2 separate regions of the Homo sapiens genome follow, and region 2 is linked to region 1. The links are contacts of gene promoters, found by promoter capture Hi-C in human tissues and cell types (Jung and others, 2019). All regions are on one chromosome and are shown on one strand. The core of a region is centred on a gene start or on the middle of the fragment in contact, and the rest is flanking DNA. Distances in the headings are between cores, read along the strand shown.

Region 1 (4,511 bases), core at 1,169-3,668:
CAGAATAAAACTAAGTGCATGGAAAAGCTGGAATTATATGGCAGCTATATATATACACATATATATACATATATGTGTATATATATACTTATATATGTGTTTGTATATATACACATATATGTGTATATATACAAACACATATATAAGTGTGTGTGTGTATATATATATATATATATATATATATATATATATATATATGTTTTTTTTTTTTTGAAACGGAGTCTCGCTCTGTCGCCCAGCTGGAGTTCAGTGGCACAATCTCAGTTCACTGCAACCTCCATCTCCCGGGTTCAAGCGATTCTCCTGCCTCGGCCTCCTGAGTAGCTGGGATTACAGGCGTGTGCCACCACGCCCGGCTAATTTTTGTATTTTTAGTAGAGACGGGGTTTCACCATGTTGGTCAGGCTGGTCTCGAACTCCTGACTTCGTGATCCGCCCGCCTCGGCCTCCCAAAGTGCTGGGATTACAGGCGTGAGCCACCGCGCCCAGCCGGCAGCAATATTTTATAAAGGAATCAAAAGAAAAGTAAAGCAAACATTTGAAGTAGTTCAGATAAGCAGCCTGCTTCATGCACAGTTCACAAGGAAAACCCTCTGTCAGAAGGTAAATGATATTTCCAAGCTTGGAAGCCAAACTGTGACTGCTGAAATGGAGCCCCCCAGGGCGGGTCAGTCCCAGATGATGAGGCAGAGAAAATTAAGGATTTATCTGGGAGTTTGAAATGCCCTTCTGTCCCCTCCTCAGTTTAGAAATTATTCTCTCCTTTAAGACCTTCATTTTCACCAACAGGAAGCTCTCGACTTGAGTCAGTTTAAGCTAAATTTACTGTTAAATTCATAAACCCGCAGGGCGCGGTGGCTCACGCCTGTAATCCCAGCACTTTGGGAAGCCGAGGCGGACGGATCACGAGGTCAGGAGATCGAGACAATCCTGGCTAACACGGTGAAACCCCGTCTCTACTAAAAATACAAAAAATTAGCCGGGCGTGGTGGCAGGCGCCTGTAGTCCCAGCTACTTGGGAGGTTGAGGCAGGAGAATGGCATGAACCCGGGCGGGAGGCGGAGCTTGCAGTGAGCCGAGATTGCGCCACTGCACTCCAGCCCGGACGACAGAGCGAGACTCCGTCTCAAAAAAAATGATAATAAATACAATAAAATAAAATAATAAATAAAAATTCATAAACCCTTTCTCCAGGAGGCATCCCAAATGGGTCTTGCTCTAATTCTGACCTTCACAGATTTTCTTTTTCTTTTTCTTTCTTTTTTTTTTTTGAGACAGTCTAGCCCTGTCGCCCAGGCTGGAGTGCAGTGGCGCAATCTCGGCTCACTGCAAGCTCCGCCTCCCGGGTTCACGCCATTCTCCTGCCTCAGCCTCCCGAGTAGCTGGGACTATAGGCGCCCGCCACCGCACCCGACTAATTTTTTGTATTTTTAGTAGAGACGGGGCTTCTCCGTGTTAGCCAGGATGGTCTTGATTTCCTGACCTCGTGATCCGCCCGCGTCGGCCTCCCAAAGTGCTGGGATTATAGGCGTGAGCCACCGCTCCCGGCCGTAAAGATTTTTAAATAATAAAAACAGGGGTCTAGGGTGGGGGGATGTGGGAGGGATAACATTAGGAGATATACCTAATGTAAATGACGAGTTAATGGGTACAGCACACCAACATGGCGCATGTATACATATGTAACAAACCTGCACATTGTGCGCATGTACCCTAGAACTTAAAGTTTAATAAATAAAAATTAAAAAAAAAAAACAACAAAACAGGGGTATTCTTGTGTTGACCAAGTTGGTCTTTAACTCTTTACTTTAAGGGATCCTCCAGTCTTGGCCTCCCAAAGTGCTAGGATTACAGGCGTGAACCACCGCACCCTGCCTGTGTTCAGGTCACAATCTCTTCTAGCTTGGATAAAGGGAAAGAAATAAAGGGGGAGAGGGCATGGTTTCATCAATGGAGATTCTCTGCAGATGCAAATTCCCCCCCTCCAAAGACAGCTTTGCCAGTCCACTTTTTTTTGCGGCCGAGCCACAGCCATTTCAAAATCTGTCAAATAAATATATTTTGGCGTAAAATATTTTAATTTCCTTCACCTCCACTGGACTCTGAGTCTGGAATTTCCTGTGCAAGACAAAGGAGCAGGGACAGCCCATTGAGTGAGGAAGACAACGGTACCCCCTCTAGCAATTCGGAGCAAATTTGGCTGAAATGCAAATACCCAAAGAGCAAGACGCAGGGAGGGAGCTCGCTTAGATAATCTGTGGTTGGAACAGGTCATTTCGGTTCTGCCGGGCCTTGTTACCCAGGGCTTCCGCTGTCACTCAGGACCGATGGGACGGGGACTGGAGCCTCATCCAATCAGGGGCGCTGGGGCGGGGTCCTGCCAACTGTCCATCCGGGGAAGGGGAGGCCGCATTCCCGCTTTCCTGACTCCCAGGCGTCTTGCACCAAAGGGAGGTCGGGATCTCGGTTTTCCGGCCCCGAGAGGGACCAGGTGCCTCCGCCATAGCTTCTGTCGCTCCATCGCCCGCACTGTGACTGGACTGTTAGAGGGATCCGTGGAGAGGAGGCCAGGACACCTGGAAGCCGGGAAATGGTGAGTGTGCGGGGCCGGGGGTCCCGAGACGGGGGAGGGGCCGGGAGGAACCGGCTCGAACCGGCTCTAGCAGGACCCAGGCCTTCCTGCAGCGACTTCGGGTCTGCAGAGCGGAGTCCCCCTGGCGTAGCTCGGCCCTCGGTCCCTTCGGCCGCAGGGTGGGGTTGGGCCGGCAGCCGGGACCCCAGGCGTCCTGTCCCGTCTCTGCGCTGCGACTGCGACCCCGGCCCTGGCCCCGGCCCCGGAGCCCTCTCTGGGGAGCTCCGCGCCCGTAGTCCCGCGTCTCCCCAGATTGTGCGGAGACCACGGGAGGGTCATGGAGGCAATCCTGCCTCGGGTGTGTGGTTCGTGTGGGAGGAGCGGTGGGCTGCGGGGTCCCCAGTCCCCCCTTTTTTCCTGAAAAACTAAATTGAAGGCCAGGCGCAGTGGGTCACGCCTGGCAGGTTGAGGCGGGGGGATTGCTTCAGCCCAGAAATTCGAGACCAGCCTAGGCAACATACCGAGACCCTAGTTTCTATTAAAAATAAATTTTTAAAAAATGAGCCGGGCGTGGTGCCGCCCACCTGTAATCCCAGCTACTGGGGGGCTGAGGTGGGAGGATCGCTTGAGGGAGGAGATTGGGACTGCAGTGAGCCGAGATCGCGCCACTGCACTCCAGCCTGGGCGACTGAGCGAGACCCTGTCTCAAACAAAACAAAACAAAAACAACAGCAACAAACTAAACTGAGTCCTCTTAAAAATTAAAGAGTTTTGCTTCTCAGAATAGGAGTTTGAAAAAAATGAATGAGAAATGTTTCCTGAATGAGAAACACCCAGTCATGGCTTGCAGTTTGATAACGGAAAGAGCAAAACTCTGCAAAATAACTTGAACTATGTTCTACGCCGAATATGAGAGAACGTGACCAAGGGAAACAACCGCATGTAGCCTCGAGTAAGTGGTCCCCAGGAGGTTCGATGGCAGTTTGGTTTTATTCATTTCAGCGAGACAGGAATTGCAGGGAAAAGATCAATCAAGGCATGGAAGGCTGACAGGGCAGGACACGTAGAAGCGGGGCTTAGAAGGCACAGGTGGTTGAGGGATTCTGTAGTTGGCAGTTGGCTGAGAGTGTGAAGTTGTGTCTAAAATTTGAAAGGGGTAGGAAGGAATGTTTAAGTGAAGGGAGTCTGTTACCTGCCACGTGATTCCATCCCCACCAAAAAACAGATATGTTTCACTAGATTTTATGAATTCTAAGGCGTGACTTTACCCTTGCCTTGCATGGCCTTAGGTCTTGTTTGCAATTTAGTATTTATTGGTACAAAGGGTTTCTTTGCAGGTTTTTTTTTTTTTTTGAGATGGAGCCTCACTCTCGCCCAGGCTGGAGTGCAGTGGCGCAATCTCGGCTTACGGCAACCTCCGCCTCCTAGGTTCAAGCAATTCTCCTGCCTCAGCCTCCCAAGTAGCTGGAATTACAGGTGCACGCCACCATACCCGGCTAATTTCTGTATTTTTAGTAGAGATGGGGTTTCACCATGTTGGCCAAGCTGGTCTCAAACTCCTGACCTCAAATAATCCGCCTGCCTCCGCCTCCCTCCGCCTCCCAAAGTGCTAGGATTACAGGACTGAGCCACTGTGCCCGGCCTCTTTGCAGGTCTTATGTCTATTTTAATATGAATGTGGGTCAGTTGCTGTGTCTAAACTCCAGAAGGGAGTATGGAGTGTCTGATCTCCCTTACTAATGTAACTGGGAACTTTCAGGTTTTTGGGGGGCCTCCCCTTGGTAAAGAGCCACTCAGTTGACTTGATTGGGGTGGGATGGGGAGCTTAGGTTTTTATTTTTAGTTTACAGGTTGAAGGATAGGCTTTTATATGGTGCATTAGAATAAAAATCAAAAAATACTTTATTGGTTACAGTGATGTAGTCGCCTTGTTTGGATT
Region 2 (4,511 bases), core at 967-3,466, 34 kb before region 1:
CAACATGGCAAAACCCGTCTCGACTCAAAATACAAAAATTAGCCAGGTGTCGTGGCACATACCTGTAATCCAAGCTACTCCAGAGCAAGACCATGTCCCCTCCGCCTCCAGAAAAAAAGCTGTAAAACAGGCTCTGGCAGATCATTCAGGAAGTATTCTGAAAGGTTTTTGTCTTTTTGTTTTCTGGGTTTTTTTTGAGACGAAGTCTGGCACTGTCGCTGGAGGCTGCGGCAGGAGAATCACTTATACCAGAGAAGTGGAGGTTGCAGTGAGCCAAGATCGCATCACTGAACTCCAGCCTGGGCAACAGAGCAAGACTCTGTCTCACAAAAGAAAAAAAAAAAAGAATTACTAGGGCCGGGCGCGGTTGCTCATGCCTGTAATCCCAGCACTTTGGGAGGCCGAGGCCAGTGGATCACGAGGTCAGGAGATCGAGACCATCCTGGCTAACACGGTGAAACCCCGTCTACTAAAAATACAAAAAATTAGCCGGGCGTAGTGGTGGGTGCCTGTAGTCCCTGCTACTCGGGAGGCTGAGGCAGGAGAATGGCGTGAACCCGGGAGGCGGAGCTTGCAGTGAGCTGAGATTGCGCCACTGCACTCCAGCCTGGGTGACAGAGCAAGACTCCGTCTCAAAAATAAAAAGAATTACCAAGGGTAGAATTAAGTTCACCTCTTCACTATATCAAATACAGAGAAATTTTTTGCTTCCTTAAATAGGAATCAAGCAACCAAAAAGCAGCATAAGTTCTGCAATAAATTCTTTTAAATACCCTCTTATTGATACACCTTACAGTCATTACTGGTTTGTGGTGGTATTTATTATTTTTTTATTTTTTGAGAGAGTCTCACTCTGTTGCCCAGGCTGGAGTGCAGTGGCGTGCTTGGCTCACTGCAACCTCCACTCCCAAGTAGCTGGGATTACAGATGTGCACCACCACACCAGGCTAATTTTTGTATTTTTAGTAGAGACAGGGTGTTGCTATGTTGTCCAGGCTGGTCTCCAATTCCTGGCCTCAAGTGATCTGCCCGCATTGGCCTCCCAAAATGCTGGGATTACAGGGTGAGCCACCGCGCCCGGCCTGTGGTAGTATTTATTACCACAATTTATTACACCCTGCTTGACAACAGGGACGTCCCTGATAGTCCTTGGAAAGAAATCACTCACAACATGATTTGACTTTTGGTATTATGCATATGAAAAACTACTATCATCATAAAAGTTGTAATCAAATAAGCATGAAAACTAAAATTTATGAGGAAAAAAAGGCCTGAAGTTGTAAGCTCACAGTAATATTGACTCACAATGTTGGACAAATAGCTTAATTATAAAGTTTATCGGATCCATGATTGGAATGGGATATTTTAATATATATTCTCAATAAATACAAAACTCACCAGACAGTATGCAAGTTGCTTGCATACTGTTAATATTTCTAAGAAATGTGTAGAGAACTTTTGTTTGAGGAGGACATGTATATTGTTTGTAATCATATGTACTCAAACATAATTCAAAATAAACTGAGGGACTGCATTCAGCTATGAGTAACAGGAAACACCCACAATGTTTCTATAATGAATAAGGTGCTTATTCTCACATGAAAGAACGGGGTGAGACCCATCTCTGCATAATGCAGCAGAGGAACAAGCTCCATGTAGGGTTTTTCGTTTTGTTTTTGGATAGTGCCATTGTAGCTCTCAACCTGCATCAGTAACACTCACTGTCCCTATGGACAAAAATGTTTATGTACAAACTGGACCGTACAGGAACCAAGTCAGATCATCAGACTATTCCCAACAATGACAATATGAACTGATTACTTGGCAGATATATTAGGGCCTTCAGGAATATCCAAATGGCAGCTGAATCTTTGATATGAAGCTTTTAAAAACATCTATGGAAATCCATAACTTTGAGAACATGGAGGTGAAGTAGCTAGTGGTGGATTAGAGGATACTCTTTTTTTTTTTTTTTTTTTTTTTTTTGAGACAGGGTCTTACTCTGTACTCTGTCACCCAGGCTGGAGTGCAGTGGCATGATCTTGGCTCACTGCAACCTTCACCTCCCTGGCTCAAGCGATTCTCCTGCCTCAGCTGGGACTATAAGCACGCGACACCACACCCAGCTAATTTTTGTATTTTTAGTAGAGATGGGGTTTCACCATGTTGACCACGCTGGTCTCGAACTCCTCACCTCAGGTGATCCGACCGCCTTGGCCTCCCAAAGTGCTAGAATTACAGGTGTGAGCCAGCACACCCGGCTGAGGATACTCTTGATTGGCAGGGCAAAGAATCAGGAAAATGGGCTAGATGACCATGTCCAAACAGCCCATATGCATCTGTCTCTCCGTATGATGCCTCCAAAATCTGACTAATGCGTTCTTCACTTCTGCATTCTAAACTTCCAGGAATTTAGGCTATTGATGCAGTCTACAGGTAACCATGAAAGAAAGAAATTCTGGGCCAGGCACAGTGGCTTATGCCTGTAATCCTAGTGCTTTAAGAGGCTGAGGCTAGAGGGTGACTTGAGGCCAGGAGTTTGAGACCAGTCTGGGCAACATAGCAAGACACCATCTCTACAAAAAAAAAAAAAGATGAAAAACCAAAAATAAAAAGATTAGCTGGGCTTGGTGGCACATACCTATAGTTCCAGCCATTTGGGAGGCTGAGGTCGGAAGGCCACCTGAGCTCCAGAGTTTGAGGTTACAGTGAGCCACAGTCGTGCCACTGCACTCCAGCCTGAGTGACAGAGTGAGACCCTATTTCAGAAAGAAAGAAAGAAATGAAGTCTGAAAAGTTTAGTTCCCATTACCCAGATTGACATGACACAATCCATGAAAGGCATCTCCCATTTTAGATTTTATTATTCTATCATAGCTGTCTCCTTATCCCAAAATCAATTATACAAAGAGCAGCCAGAATAAATAACAAGGAGTAAAGAACAACAGGTTAAAATAATAATTCACGAGACTACAGTCTGTGATAAACTTTACATACTTAGAATTAACAACAACTCTTTAATAGGAAGCAAAATAAAATTATTTGAGCCAAGAAAAAAAAAATGGGCTAGGTGTGATGGCTCACACGTGTAATCCCAGACTTTAGGAGGCTGAGGTGGGTGGATCACTTGAGGTCAGGAGTTCTACCAGCCTGGCCAACATGGTGAAACCCCATCTCTACTAGAAATACAAAAAATTAGCCAGGTGTGGTGGCACATGCCTGTAGTCCCAGCTTCCTAGGAGGCTAAGGTGGGAGAATCACTTGAACCCAGAAGGCAGAGGTTGCAATGAGCCGAGATCATGCCACTGTACTCCAGCTTGGGCAACAGAGCACAGAGCGAGACCCTGTCTCAAAAAGAAAAAAGAAGAAAGAAAAAAGAAAAAAGGAAAAAAAAGGAGCTGTTCCAATAAATATGATGGAATGTATATAATGTGGAAAGGGAATCAAGAACCTGCTAAATGAAGCAAGTAGGTTCATACCAACATTTATTAAGACTTATTTTTCAGTGGTCCTCAATCACAGAACAATTAAGCAACCATATACAATTTAACATACCTGAATATGAGAAACACATTTAAATTCATTGTTGGATTAAACACATTTCAAAATGGAAAGACAAATATTTTATTTACTGACCTAAAACAACACTACCTATGAAATTCATGCACTATTGCTTTCAGATTACTTACAGGATTATATCAATTTAACATTTCTTTGTGAGATTAAGCATTTGAAATCCATAGTCAGAGAACTATTTTAAATATGAGCCACTAATTAACAAAATATACATATAGCTTCTACATTTCCATCAGGTTATGTATTTTCTAGAGACTACATGACCCGCTATGCATGAGGCTTTTTGAAGTACTTACATTTATAGGATTTTGCTGTATTAGAAGTTTTCAAATGACTTTTTTTTTTTTTCTGAGATGAGGTCTTGCTATGTTTTGCACACTGGTCTCAAACTCCTGACCTCAAGTGATCCTCCTGCCTCAGCCTCCCAAAGTGCTGGGATTACAGGTGTGAGCCACCACACCCAGCCAGAGCCAAAACATCTGTTCAAATTCAATACCTCAACTAGTGAGGCCCTGCTGGGATTGAAATCCAGCATCTCCTGTTTGCCAGACAAGTACTTTAACCCACAAAGCCACAGAGCCAGAGCCCTCAAATGACTTTAAAAGTATAATGGAAAACCTTCCTTGTAGTTTTCACATTTATAGTGTTTTGATCCAGGGTACATTCTTACATGTTGTTGAAAGCATGTGGGCTGGCTAAAAACGTGTGGACATTGCTTATATTCAAGAGCTTTCTCTTTTGTGTGTTCTTTCATGGCTTCAAGTGGAACTAAAATGACTAAAGGCTCTCCCACACTCTTTACATTTACCAAGGTTCTCTCCACTACACATTCATGTGTGACAGGGTTGTGTGATGACAAAACCTTTCCTACACCCTTTACCCAGGGTTTCTCTCAAATATGGGTTCCTTTCCAAAAAGCATTTGTTTGGTTTTCT

Evidence for each region. Contacts are between HindIII fragments. The study calls those that stand out against the background at their distance.
Region 2: a fragment that was not itself captured here is called in contact with the fragment with the promoter of ZNF625-ZNF20 in region 1 in 7 of the 25 tissues and cell types used here (H1 embryonic stem cells, bladder, dorsolateral prefrontal cortex and 4 more).

What each region holds. Positions count from the first base shown.
Region 1 is chr19:12,154,638-12,159,148 of GRCh38, reverse strand. ZNF625-ZNF20 (ZNF625-ZNF20 readthrough (NMD candidate)) reads left to right here and starts at 2,418. Exons shown (of 8, transcript NR_037802.1): 1 at 2,418-2,593. ZNF625 (zinc finger protein 625) reads left to right here and starts at 2,415. Exons shown (of 4, transcript NM_145233.4): 1 at 2,415-2,593. The coding sequence starts at 2,591. RefSeq lists enhancers at 2,389-2,498, 2,061-2,752 and a silencer at 2,729-2,898. The HindIII fragment of the contact is 11,402 bases long and covers 1-4,511 here.
Region 2 is chr19:12,188,207-12,192,717 of GRCh38, reverse strand. It overlaps ZNF136 (zinc finger protein 136), which reads right to left. Exons shown (of 4, transcript NM_003437.5): 4 at 2,847-4,511. Among named protein-coding and RNA genes, the nearest start is that of ZNF136, 27 kb to the right of the region's middle. The HindIII fragment of the contact is 7,748 bases long and covers 1-4,511 here.